Regions from separate parts of the Homo sapiens genome. Here all the other regions are linked to region 2. Evidence: promoter capture Hi-C in 16 types of primary human blood cells and fetal thymus (Javierre and others, 2016). All regions are on one chromosome and are shown on one strand. Each heading gives the region's core, a stretch centred on a gene start or on the middle of the fragment in contact. The rest is flanking DNA. Distances are from core to core; before and after follow the strand shown. Region 1 overlaps LINC02558 (long intergenic non-protein coding RNA 2558). Region 2 holds the start of BPIFC (BPI fold containing family C). Region 3 overlaps LINC02558 (long intergenic non-protein coding RNA 2558).

Region 1 (4,204 bases), core at 1,030-3,529, 450 kb before region 2:
AAATAACCTCATTCAAAAATTTATAGACACAGACCCTAGAATAGCTAAAACCAAACCAAACAAAAAACCAGTCTTAAAAGAGAACAAAGTGGGAAGAAACACTCTACCTGATATGAAGGCCTAACTATATAGCTAAGTAATCAAGGGAGTGTGGTACTGGCAGAGGTATAGTATAGAGATTAATGGAACATAACAGACAACCTGAAAATAGGCCCACATAAATATGCCCAATTGATTTTTGACAATGGTGCAAAAGGAGGAAAGATAGCCTTTTACACCTCTTCAACAGATGGTGCTGGAGGAAATAATAAGCTATTACAACAAGGTTACAGAATACAAGGTTAATATACAAAAGTCAATCACTTTCTTATATACCAGAAAACAAGTAAAATTTAAAATTAAACACATAATACCAATTTATATTAGCACCCCAAAATGAAATACTTAGGTATAAATCTAACAAATTATGTACCAAGAACTGTATGAGGAAAAGGACAAAACTCTGAAGAAAGAAGAACTAAATAAATAGAAAGACCCAATATTGTCAAGTTGTCCAATTCTTCTAAGCTTGATCTATAGATTCAATGCAATCTCAATCAAAACCCCAGCAAGTTATTTTGGGCTATCAAGAAACTGATTTTAAATTTTATATGCAGACAAAAAACCTATAATAGCCAACATAATATTGAAGATGAAGAGGACTGACACTATAAAGCCATAGTAAACAAAACAGTATAGTGTCATGTGCTTGCACTTATATGCATTTTTAAAGCACCAAAAACTGGGTGAACACAGTGGCTCATGCCTGTAATCCCAGCATTTTGGGAGGCCAAGGCAGGCAGATCACTTGAGGCCAGGAGTTCAAGACCAGCCTGGCCACTGTGGTGAAACTCTGTCTCTACTAAAAATACAAAAACTAGCTGGGCATGGCGTGCACCTGTAGTCCCAGCTACTAGGGAGGCTGAGGCATGAGAATTGCTTGAACCCGGGAGGCGGAGGTTGGAGTGAGCCAAGATAGTGCCACTGCACTCCAACCTGGGCAACAGAGTGAGACTCTATCTCCATAAATACATAAATAAAGCACCAAAAACTTTATCAATGTGTGTATGTGTTTTATGGATAGACAAAGACAGAAATAGAAGGTTCATGGGTGCAAACATATGTGGAAATGAAGTATAAAATGACCATAGGGATGATAACTGGTAACTTCAAGATGATAGTTACCTCCAGAGAGGGAGAAAGAAAGGTTCAAAAGCAGAATGTTAATTAAAGCTATACAGTGGAATTAATTGTTAAAAAGGGCAGAGATCTAAACTAAAACGCGCACACAAATAAGTACAATACAAGGAGTGTGATAATGTCAGAACAGATGAAAACAGAGACAAAGAGAGAGAATAATGGACCTGGGAAGTTCCAGGAAAATTTCTTGGAGGGGGCAGCTTGGAACTGAGCCTTGAAGGGTGGGTAGGATTTCTGAAGGCTGAAATTGAATGAGGGAGAGATGAGCAACGGCATAGAGATGTGAAGAGAGGCAATTGGAGAACACCAGGTCATACCAGCTAAGGTGAAGGTGGGAAGAAAAGGGGGTGAAGAGGTCCTCCCATGGGTCAGAGGAGTGTTACACTCTTTTTTGCTGGAAGGCTTCCCAGAAGGTATTATGAGCAACCTGAAGGCCAAGACTCAACTTTTCATGACCCCACTGCACATATAACAGTACTTTACATATACATATACCAAACATCATAAAAGGATTGAATGAAAGCAATGTCATCTAAGGGGAAAGAGGAGTTTAGGATTCCTAGAGTCTTGTAATAGAGTCTGATTGCAATAACCAGATTATTGCCTCTATTGTGCCTCTTTTAAAAAGAACTTAAAAGAGGGAACCTAGGGTGTAGCAGAAAAGTTGTGGAAAGTCCATACCTATAAAGTTAGGGTTAGGATTTTGAGCCCCGCCCTTTCTAGTGTAACACACTGCCATGATCTTAGAAGCACTGCAAGGAAACAAAATTACTTGTAACTGTTTGAAATCTCACAGAACTTGAAATAGGATAGTCAATTACATCATCTATTAAAATTGTGGGCCGGGCCCAAGGCTCCCAGCACCTTGGGAGGCTGAAGCGGGAGGATTGTTTGAACCCAGGAGTTCAAGGCCAGCCTGAGCAACATAGTGAGAACTCATCTCTACAAAAAATTTAAAAAAATGAGCCAGGTGTGGTGACATACACCTGTAGTCCTAGCTACTCGGGAGGCTGAGGTGGGAGGATCACTTGAGCTAGGGAAGTTGAGGCTGCAGTGAGCTGAAACCATGCCACTGCACAGCCTGGTTAGCGGAGTGAGACCCTGTCTCCAATCAACCAACCAACCAACCAACAAACAAAAACTAAAAAGAAAAAGAAGGCTGGGTGTGGTGGTTCATACCTGTAATCCCAGCACTTTGGGAGGCTGAAGCGGGTGGATCACCTGAGGTCGGGAGTTCGAGACCATCCTGACCAACATGGAGAAACCCCATCTCTACTAAAAAAAAAAAAAAATACAAAATTAGCCGGGCATGGTGGCATATGCCTGTAATCCCAGCTACTCGGGAGACTGAGGCAGGAGAATCACTTGAACCTGGCAGGTGGAGGTTGCAGTGAGTCGAGATTGTGCTATTGCACTCCAGCCTGGGCAACAAGAGTGAAACTCCATCTCAAAAAAAAAAAAAAAAGGAACTGCTTTTGTCATATCCTATAAATTTTGGTATGCTGTGTTTCCATTTGCATTTGCCTCAAAGTTTCCCCCTTTTTTTGAGCCATTGGTTGTTCAGAAACATATTATTTAATTTCCATGTGTTTGTGAATTTTCTGAAATTCTGTTATTGATTTCTAGTTTCATACCTCTCTGGCCAGAAAAGATACATATTTGATATGATTTCAATCTTCTTAAATTTGTTAAAACTTTTCTTATGACCTAGCATGTGCTCTATCCTGAAGAATGTTCTTTGTGCACTTCAGAAGAATGCGTATTCTATTGCGGTTGGGTGGAACGTTGTGTACATTTCTATTAGGTACTTTAGGTATACAGTGTTGTTCAAGTCTAGTGTTTCCTTATTGATTTTCTGTCTGGGTAACCTATCCATTATTGAAGGTGAGGTACTGAAGTCTCCTACATATTGTTGCATTGCTCTCTATTTTTCCCTTCAGATCCCTTAATGCTTCTATCTAGGTACTGTGATGTTGGGCACATATATATTTATAATTGCTGTATCTTCCTATTGAGTTGATACTGTTGTCATTGTATAACGACCTACTTTGTCACTTGTGACAGTTTGTTTTTTAGATGGAGTCACGCTCTCTCACCCAGGCTGGAGTGCAGTGGCATGATCTCAGCTCACTGCAACCTCTGTCTCCGGGGTTCAAGTGATTCTCCTGCCTCAGCCTCCTGAGTAGCTGGGATTATAGGTGCCTCCCACCATGCCCGGCCAAATTTTGTATTTTTAGTAGAGATGGGGTTTCACCATCTTGGCCAGGCTGGCACAAACTCCTGACCTCAGGCGATCCTCCTACCTCAGTGTCTCAAAGTGCTGGGATTACAGGCGTGAGCCGCTTGTGACAGTTTTTGACTTAAAAGTCTATTGTGTCTAATATCAGTTCCCACAGTTGCTCTCTTTTGGCTACCATTTGCATGGGTCTTTTTCCATCTCCTCAATTTTAACCTGTATGCTCTTATATCTAAAATGAAACTCTTGTAGATAGCACTTAGTTGAATCGTTTTGTTTTTTTAAGTCCATTCAGCCACTATATGTCTTTTGATTGGTGAGTTTAATTCATTTACATTTAAAAGTAATTATTGATAGGTAAGGACTTACTGCTGTCATTTTCTTGTTTTCCATTTTGTAGATTCTTTGTTTCTTCTCTCTTTCTTTGTGATTTGATGATTTTTTTTGGTAGTGATATGCTTTGATTATTTTCTCTCAATATTTTGTGTATCTATTGTAGGTTTTTTGTGTTTACCCTGAAGCTTGCATAAAATATAGTTATAACAGTTTATTTTAAAGCTGACAAGATTTTTTTTTTTTTGAGCTGGAGTCTTGCTCTGTCGCCCAGGCTGGAGTGCAGTGGGATGATCTCGGCTCACTGCAACGTCTGCCTCCTGGGTTCAAGCAATTCTCCTGCCTCAGCCTCCCGAGTGGCTGGGATTACATGCGACTGCCACCACGCCCAGCTAA
Region 2 (4,190 bases), core at 874-3,373:
CCTGGCACATGGTAAGACCCAAATTAATATGTGCTAACTGATCAACTGACTGACTTAAAAGATTCCAGTCAACTAAGAAAGGTTCTACAAATGGTTAGAAAAAAAGGAAAAACCAAACTATCATATATAATATAGAGCTCTCCATTTCTATAGTGAAAAAAACATAATAAACCAGAGAAGAAATATTACTTGTGAATGGAATAACAACTAAAATAATAAATTTTTATTTCTTTACCCTTTACAAAACTCACAGTTCTTTGAAGTGGATGTTCTTATTATCTTACTCCCATTTTAGACACGTGGACATGGAGGCTTAGAGAATCTGATGACTCGTCCAAGATCCCACAGTAAGTAAGGCACCTGGGAACCCAACCTTGTTCTTCTGGTTCCTAATTCTAGTGTTGATGAATTTATTTTTATTGAATGACTCGATACATGCTAGGGTTTTCATTTTCATCTGGGAATTTTAAATAGGAGTTGCTTGACACCATTTTCCTTTTTGTTGTTGTTGTTTAAAAGTTACTCAATTTTTTTTATTACACTTTAAGTTCTAGGGTACATGTGCACAGAAAACCAAACACCATTTTCAAGGTGGAAAAATTCAATAAGCATCTAGAAACGTTCAAGCATCACAGTGCAAATCCCTTCTTATTTTCTTGGACACAACTGGAGTTTTAAATTCCCTGCCAGCAGTAAAACCTGTTTTCCCTTCTTGGTTAAAAAAAGTTTCTGAAGTGGTACACTTTGATGGAGATCCAGGAATCCAAAATTACAGGCAGGAAAACATATTTTTCCTCTAGAAATTTTATGAGTGAAAGAAATTACTGGGGTATGAAGGGGTGAATTGTACATAACTTTTCATTGAATTGTTCAGTTACGATGATAACTTATGGGCAGGGGAGGAAAGGAACCTTGTCAAGCAAGGTGATGACTACTAAAAGGTTAAGTAATTTGGCTGACAAGTGCAGGCAGGGCTAGTTGCCTGTTAAAAGGATCCAAGATCACTTAAAAACCCCACCAGCAAGTTATCTATTTTGTTGCTTCTGGGGAATTGCTTCTTTCCAAGATTCAAAATCTCAGTAGTCATTATTTTTCCATACAAATACACAGACAGAATAATACTCCTAAATTAAATGGTCCTTGTGTGAGTCATCCTGACAGCTAAGAAAATGCCAGTCCAATTTAGAAAACACCTGAAACTCACAGATGGTCCTACTACTACTGCTGCTTGGCAAGAGCTTTGACTGACTCTGGAAAAACCGATTAAGGGAGTAATGAATGAGTAAAATGTAGCCTTCAAAACAGAGGCGCAGGTTGAAAAATTAAGTTCAACAGGTTTAAAGAAGTCTAAACTAGAAGGGTATTCCGACATATTGGTTAAGACAAAATGACCGTACATAAGAAGTCTAAATCGACAGGTATGGAACGTGGGCAGAATATTTCAAGGGATCCACTCCTCACATCTAGTTTTATAGCAACATCTCTAATGACAAGGACCTTGAGAATTCATAGCATGTCTTTTCCCCAAAACTCTATGCCTAACACCAACAAGTTCAACAGTCCAGGCAAGTGGGTGGCTAGTTTTGCTCTGGCAGGATCTAGGTCACTGATGTGCTTTAAGACCTGCCTTGAAAGCACAGAGATTATAACAACTCCTTAGTCCTAACCATGCTGATTTTGAGAGACAAGATAGAATTTTCTGCCACTGTGCTGGGTTCCCCTCTGAAATGGAGGCAAAAATAAGTCCAGATCACTGAGCAACCCTCTTAACATTGTTCCATGATGCAAAACTAAGTAGGTGGTTTAAACCAACTCTTTTCTCTCTTATGGCTGTTTAGCTGTCACTAAAGCTTTTGCCTAAGAAGCCTCCAGGTGCGCATATGTGACATCACACAAACAAACAAACAAAGATACAGAAAAATCTAGGCAGACAATAATAATAACCCAGGATATATGACAGCTGCCTGTTCAAAGTGTCCTACCAAATCTGGGACATCTCCAGTTTGGAGATCATGGCTGGCAGAGACCTGAAGTTTGTTCATGAGTCTTACCTCAAGCAGAGGAAGTGTCCAAAGCTGGAGAGCACCTTCGATTCTCTCTGCCTTTGAAGCTGATGTGTTCTCCACCTTGCGCCTTAAACTCAGCTGCTAAAAAGCCAAGATAATTAAGTCTGACTCATCTCAGTGGTGAATTTTTTTAATGCCTCTTTCAAAATGTGATACATAATTGCTTCACTACAATTACCCAATGGCATGAATGAGCACTACAGTATCTACCTAGATAAACAGACAGTGCCACCTATGCAATAATTATCTTCCTGCAAAACACACACACACACACACACACACACACACACACACCACTTGTGAAATTGTGATGGCTACTTTACCAAAATGATTGAAAACGGTGTTAAACTGCATTGGAAGAGGAAGAATTTTCCTGTCTGGAATCATAAGCTGGTTCCTTCTGGTCAGGGTGCCTGCGGTGGATGGCTCTACTACTGCCCAGAATACCTTTGGGACTTGTGGTGGATCATCAGATTCAGTCTGAAAGCATGAGGCTTGACAATCGGGCTGACCTAGTTACCTTATCACTCAGGGTAGGACCTCAGTTGGCATCTCTCAGTGTCCGTCCGCTCCTTTTCAGAATGTTATTAATGACTTACTGTTCCAGCATTCCTTAAACCTAAGTTGGGTGGGTGGGTTCATCAACTATTATGCAACTTAACATTTTCAGATTCCAAACTCCAGCCCTACTCTCATCTCCAATAAATTCATTTTAGTTAATGTGTTTTATCTATTTTTATTTTTATTTATTTATTTTTTGAGATGGAGTCTCACTCTGTCACCCAGGCTGGAGTGCAGTGGAGCGATCTTGGCTCACTGCAACCTCCGCCCCCTGGGTTCAAACAATTCTCCTGCCTCAGCCTCCCTAGTAGCTGGGATTACAGGAGTGCGCTACCACGCCCAGCTAATTTTTTGTATTTTTAGTACAGACAGGGTTTCGCTGCATTGGCCAGGCTGGTCTCGAACTCCTGACCTCATGTGATTGATCCACCCGTGTTGGCTTCATAAGTGCTGGGATTACAGATGTGAGCCATCATACCCGGCCATTAATGTATTTTAGATGGCCAGGGATTTGATTGTATGAAGTTTTTTTTTTTGTTTTTTGGTTTTTTTTTTTTTGAGACAGTCTCACTGTCACCCAGGCTGGAGTGCAGTGGCATGATCTTGGCTCACTACAACCTCTGCCTCCAGGGTTTAAGCGATTCTTGTGCCTTAGCCCTCTGAGTAGCTGGAATTACAGGTGTGCACCACCAAACTTGGCTAATTTTTGTATTTTTAGTAGTGATGGGGTTTCACCATGTTGGCCAGGCTGGTCTTGAACTCTTGACCTCAAGTGATCCACCTGCCTTGGCCTCCCAAAGTCCTGGGATTACAGGCATGATCCACCGCACCCAGCCTGATTGCATGAAGTTCTTATGGCTTATCTACACTTTTCTGGGTAAGACCCGGTGACCAACTGTCCTGGTTTCCCAAGAATGCAGGATTTTCAGTACTAAAACCAGAACAGTCCTGGGAAAATCAGGATGATAAGTCAGTCTGAAAGGAACCACAGACGCTTTCACTTGGCATTGTCCATACTTCTCACAGCTTCTCAGGGGAGTTATACCTTGGGTTATACTTACTGATTTGAACTGAGTTTCCTTAAGGTAAAGTGGGGATAGAAATAGTAACTTCCTTGATTGGTTCTGGTGAAGAAAAACATAATAACACATGAGAATGCGCTATTAAAACTGTAAACTGCTGTGAAATTCTACTCATTAGCACGTGGCCGTATCAATAATGATACGGTGCAGAGACGCTCTTCATGGGATCATTTATTGTCGGTCATCATAGATGAATTCATTCATTCAATCAACAGATTTACTGAGCACCTACAATGTGCAAAGTCCTCTTCAGCAAAAAAGATGAAATTTTTGTCCACGAGGAGTTTATGTTCTAGTCGATGGAGACAAAATAAATAAGCAAACAATAAAATAAACAAAAATGTATAAATTGTGACATGTACTGTGACGGAACTAAGGGAATGTTGTTGGTAAGGTGGTCTTGTAATAGGTAGAGCAATGCAACTGGGGGAGGTGGGCTTATTTTATCAGGATACCCACGTGGGCGTCTCTGAGGAGGTGA
Region 3 (4,218 bases), core at 1,554-4,053, 430 kb before region 2:
TGTGTGTGTGTGTGTGTGTGTGTGGGTGGGTGTGTGGGTGTTAAGGGACAGTCAGAGCCAGGACAAGTCCAAAGTTGTGAGGGAAGGAAACAAAGTATACAGGACAGTGGAGCAGGTCCAGGTAAGAGGGTGAAGTTCCGGACTTTGCACCAAACCTTCTCTCCTTTAGACCAAAGCAGTGGTTCTCTGAGAGACCATTGTTAGAAGAAGAATAAAAGAGCTATCATTAATCAATTCCTTGCTAGCATTTATACAGCATTGCAGGAAGTGCTTTGCACACATTATCTCCTTTAATCCTCACAATACCCCTATGACATAGGTGCTGTCATCCTCAGTTTGTTGATAAGGAAACTGAGATTTAGAGAGATTAAGTAACTCGCCCAATATCGCACAGCTAATGAAGGACATAACTAGATTTTGAACCCATTGCTCATAAATGCACATTAAAAATATGTGTTGGCCAGGTGTGGTGGCTCATGCCTATAATCCCAGCACTTTGGGAGGCTGAGGTGGGTGGATCACTTGAGGTTAGGAGGTTGAGGCAGCAGTGAGTGGTGTTCACACTCTAGCCTGGGCTACAAAGTGAGACATGTGTGTGTGTGTGTGTGTGTGTATGTATATGTGTATATTTTTTACATATATACATATATATTTACATATGTGTATATATTTACATATATTTTTTGAGACAGGGTGTCACTCTGTACATATACATATACACATACATATACACACATATGTGTATATATATGCCCAGAGAGGGTGTCCTTGGGGAAAGAAAGAATAAAGAAACATCTGAGAAAGAACTCAAAACTCTGGCTTCCAGTCCTTGTTTCACCTGACTCACTGTGTCACCCTAACAAGTCCCCTCCCCTCTCTGCTTCTCAGCAACCTGCCTCCACCATCTTCCTAATTCCTCAGCCCATTGGCCTTTAAGCTTCTGGGGTTCCTGCATCATGCTACTGGGGCCTCTCACCACATCTCCAGCTGTGTCAGACTCAGGTTCTGGATGGAACCTGAAGCGTTGACAGCCTGTGGGTGGAGGAACTGAGAGGAGACTCCGGGGAGTTCTCTAGATTTCTGACACTTTAGATCTTTCTCTGTGATCCTTTGCAAGTCCCATAACTTGAGCCTTATCGACTAGTGAGTTGGTACTTTGAGAAGTCGAGAAGCCGCACACTCCCCTCTCTGGAGATACACAATTTAGGCAATAACCTAAGTCATGCCAACACACCTCTGCTGCAAAAAACGCTTAAGGGAGCAGAGTAGCTAACACGGTTATTGCAGTTTCCTGACTATCCATGTGTAACACTATACACGGATACTCAGCTACCTCACAGAGGAGCTCAGAATCAGCTCACCACCCCAAGGAAGCCAGCTGGTCTGCACCTCCAAAATCTGCTTGCCTCAGTCACAACTCGCTCAGCATCTTTTGAAGACCAGGAAATTAGAGAGTACTTTGAACATAATCCCTGGAAAAGCCGCTAAACATGGCATAACTCATCCCCTACCTTTCACAAGTGGGACAGGGAGGCCCAGGGAGGCCATGTGACTCAGCTGGAATCAGAACTCAGGCCTTCTGACCCCATGCTGTTTCTTTGACTCTTGCACGCATTTCATCCCTTAGCCAGTTTCTGGACCCCATGGAGTATTCCTTTAGAATGCTTCTTCTAGGCCAGGCCACATCATCCCTCCCTGGATTACTGCAACAGTCTCTTCTGGTCTCCCTCCTCCAAGTCTCTCCTTCCTTCACTCCATCCGGCATAATGAGCCATGTCACTCTCTGACCCAAAATTGTCAGGGGCTCCCCACATCTACTGAAGAAAACCCAAAGGCCCCAGCCTGATATTCAAGGTCCTCCACTACCTGGTGCCAACCTGTTTCTGGCTTCCCATCCCCCCACCTCCTCTCCTCACACATCCTTAGTCCAGCTCAGCTGGACTGGTTGCCCCAGGATCTCCCTTCTCCTGAATTTCATCAGTGCTGTTTCTTCCAATGAGTTTGCGGGACTACCTTGCCCACTGCCCCATCTGCCACCTTTTCCTGTCCGAATCCTACTTGGCTTGGTTCAAATGCCCTCTCACCCGTTAAACTTCCTCACACTCCACTCCCAATGGAAGAAATTGCTCCCTTCTCTGGAACCTCAAAGCACTATTCTGAACCTATTATGGGTGGATCTATATTAGGCCTTAGTATTTATGTACCTGTTTCCTCACCTAGCAGGATGCATTAGCAAAATACATAAACAACTGGTCCAAATGCTTCCCATAAGCCCAGTATGGTGCCTTTTGCTCACTGATTCATTCTTTCTTTCAGCAACAATTTCTTGAACAGAGGCTGGATGTGTTGCCTCACACCTGTAATCTCAGAGTTTTGGGAGGCCACGGCAGCAGAATTGCCTGAGGACAGGAGTTTAAGACCAGTCTGAGCAAGATAGCAAGACCCCATCTCTCCAAAAACTTTTAAAAATTAGCCAGACATGGTGGTGCACACTTGCAGTCTCAGCTACTTGGGAGGCTGAGGCAGGAGGATCACTTGAGCCCAGTAATTCAAGACTACAGTGAGCTATGCTCATGCCGCTGCACTTTGGCCTGGGCAACAGAACAAGACCCTGTCTCTAAAAAATAAAAATAATAATTATTGAAGAAAGTTTTGGAGTCTGATAGACCTAAGTATGAGTCTAAGCTCTATCACTTGTTAGTAGTGTAACTTTGAACAAATTAACCATTCTAAGACTTAGTTTTCTCCTCTGTAAAACAGGGGTCACAATATCTATTTCACAAATTTATTGTAATGACTAATGATATAACATATGCATTGTGCTAAGCATATACCATGTTATCTCATTAGTATGTAATAGTATGAATAGTATTAACTACTAATATTGGCTTATTAATTGGATAATATAATTATCTCATTAGCATGTAATAGTATTAATAGTATTAACTATTACATGTGGGCTTATTAACTGGATAACATAACAATCCAATTAATAAGCCAATATTACTAATAAATAATCATGCTCCTACTATGTGCCTGGAATTTTGAAGGGGCAAACTGGAAGAGCCAAACAGAAGGCACAACATAAGGAGCACAGAGGCAAGTTGCAGCACCATTGTACCCTGAAAACAGCTGGTGCTTGATAAGTTATTTGCCAAATGAGAGGGAACCTGTGGTGGGAAGCAGAGCCCCGGGATTCTCTGCCACTGTCATGACCTGTGACCTTGAGTAAGCCTCACCTCTTTCCTGGGCTCAGTGTCCTCAGATGATCCACTCATCTGCCCCAGTTCCATAATTCCAAGATATGGGAAGTAACACTGGGCCTTTGGATGATGTTCCTTCATTCCTCCAACTCAGGCAGGAGCATGTTTTTACCTGCTCAATTCAGGAGTTTGGCCTACAGAGGCTGGTACCACCCTCTGAAGAGGTCACACCTGTCTCTGAAGCAAGAAACACTAATCACTGTACAAGGTCTTGCCCTTTCATCCAGGCTGGAGTACAGTGATGCCATCATAACTCACTGCAGTTTCTAACTCCTGGGCTCAAGTGATCCTTCTGTCTCAGCCCCCTGAGTGCTGGGATTACAAGTGTGAGCCACTGTGCCTGGCCTGGTTTTTGTGTTCCTGGAATCCCAGCCTCACTGGCAGGTTGACTGAAGGGTGGTCAGCTGGCAGTGTGGGGGATGAGGCTCACAGGTGAGTGCCGTGGTGAGGTCCTCAGCAGTGCCTGCAGGCCTGTGGGCCACCTCCTCTCGGGAGCTGCTTCTCTGCCTCATCTTACATTGCAGAGGGAGCTGAGGTCTGTGGGGTAACAGTCACACTGAGACATGGCTCACAGAGAGACGACTTCTGCAGGTGCTGAGTGACATCTAACCTTCCCACTCCACCTGCTCTCATCCTGGGCTCTGAGTTTTCAGAAAACCAAGGTGTTTGGCAGACGATGATGCCTACATTACACTGCTGACTTTTGCCTGCATTTGTTATAATTAATGACTCATTGAAATGCCTCTCACTTTCGTACAGCTGGGTCCAAGTGTCAAACTGGAGGTGAAGTGGGAGAAGGACTAGAGGGATGCTGGCTTTGGAGTAGCCTCAGAATTGGGACTAAGGCTTCACTTCTCCTTGCTGTATTCCCTCCTCTTCCTCCTCTCTGCACTAGTGGTACAGGCTTTGGTACAGGGAGTTGAGCGCCAGCTTGGCCTTTTACCAGCCGAGGGAT

Evidence for each region. The method cuts DNA at HindIII sites, captures the fragments that hold promoters and counts their contacts. A CHiCAGO score of 5 or more calls a contact.
Region 1: a contact is called between a fragment that was not itself captured here and the fragment with the promoter of BPIFC in region 2, in 4 of 17 cell types (M2 macrophages, M0 macrophages, M1 macrophages and 1 more). The highest score is 7.9, in M2 macrophages.
Region 3: a contact is called between a fragment that was not itself captured here and the fragment with the promoter of BPIFC in region 2, in 3 of 17 cell types (M2 macrophages, M0 macrophages and M1 macrophages). The highest score is 7.5, in M2 macrophages.

What each region holds. Positions count from the first base shown.
Region 1 is chr22:32,008,760-32,012,963 of GRCh38, forward strand. All of the region lies in intron 4 of LINC02558 (long intergenic non-protein coding RNA 2558), which reads left to right. Among named protein-coding and RNA genes, the nearest start is that of SLC5A1, 32 kb to the right of the region's middle. The HindIII fragment of the contact is 3,429 bases long and covers 566-3,994 here.
Region 2 is chr22:32,462,323-32,466,512 of GRCh38, forward strand. It overlaps BPIFC (BPI fold containing family C), which reads right to left and starts at 2,124. Exons shown (of 17, transcript NM_174932.3): 1 at 2,052-2,124. The HindIII fragment of the contact is 5,490 bases long and covers 1,849-4,190 here.
Region 3 is chr22:32,030,646-32,034,863 of GRCh38, forward strand. All of the region lies in intron 4 of LINC02558 (long intergenic non-protein coding RNA 2558), which reads left to right. Among named protein-coding and RNA genes, the nearest start is that of SLC5A1, 11 kb to the right of the region's middle. The HindIII fragment of the contact is 3,737 bases long and covers 936-4,218 here.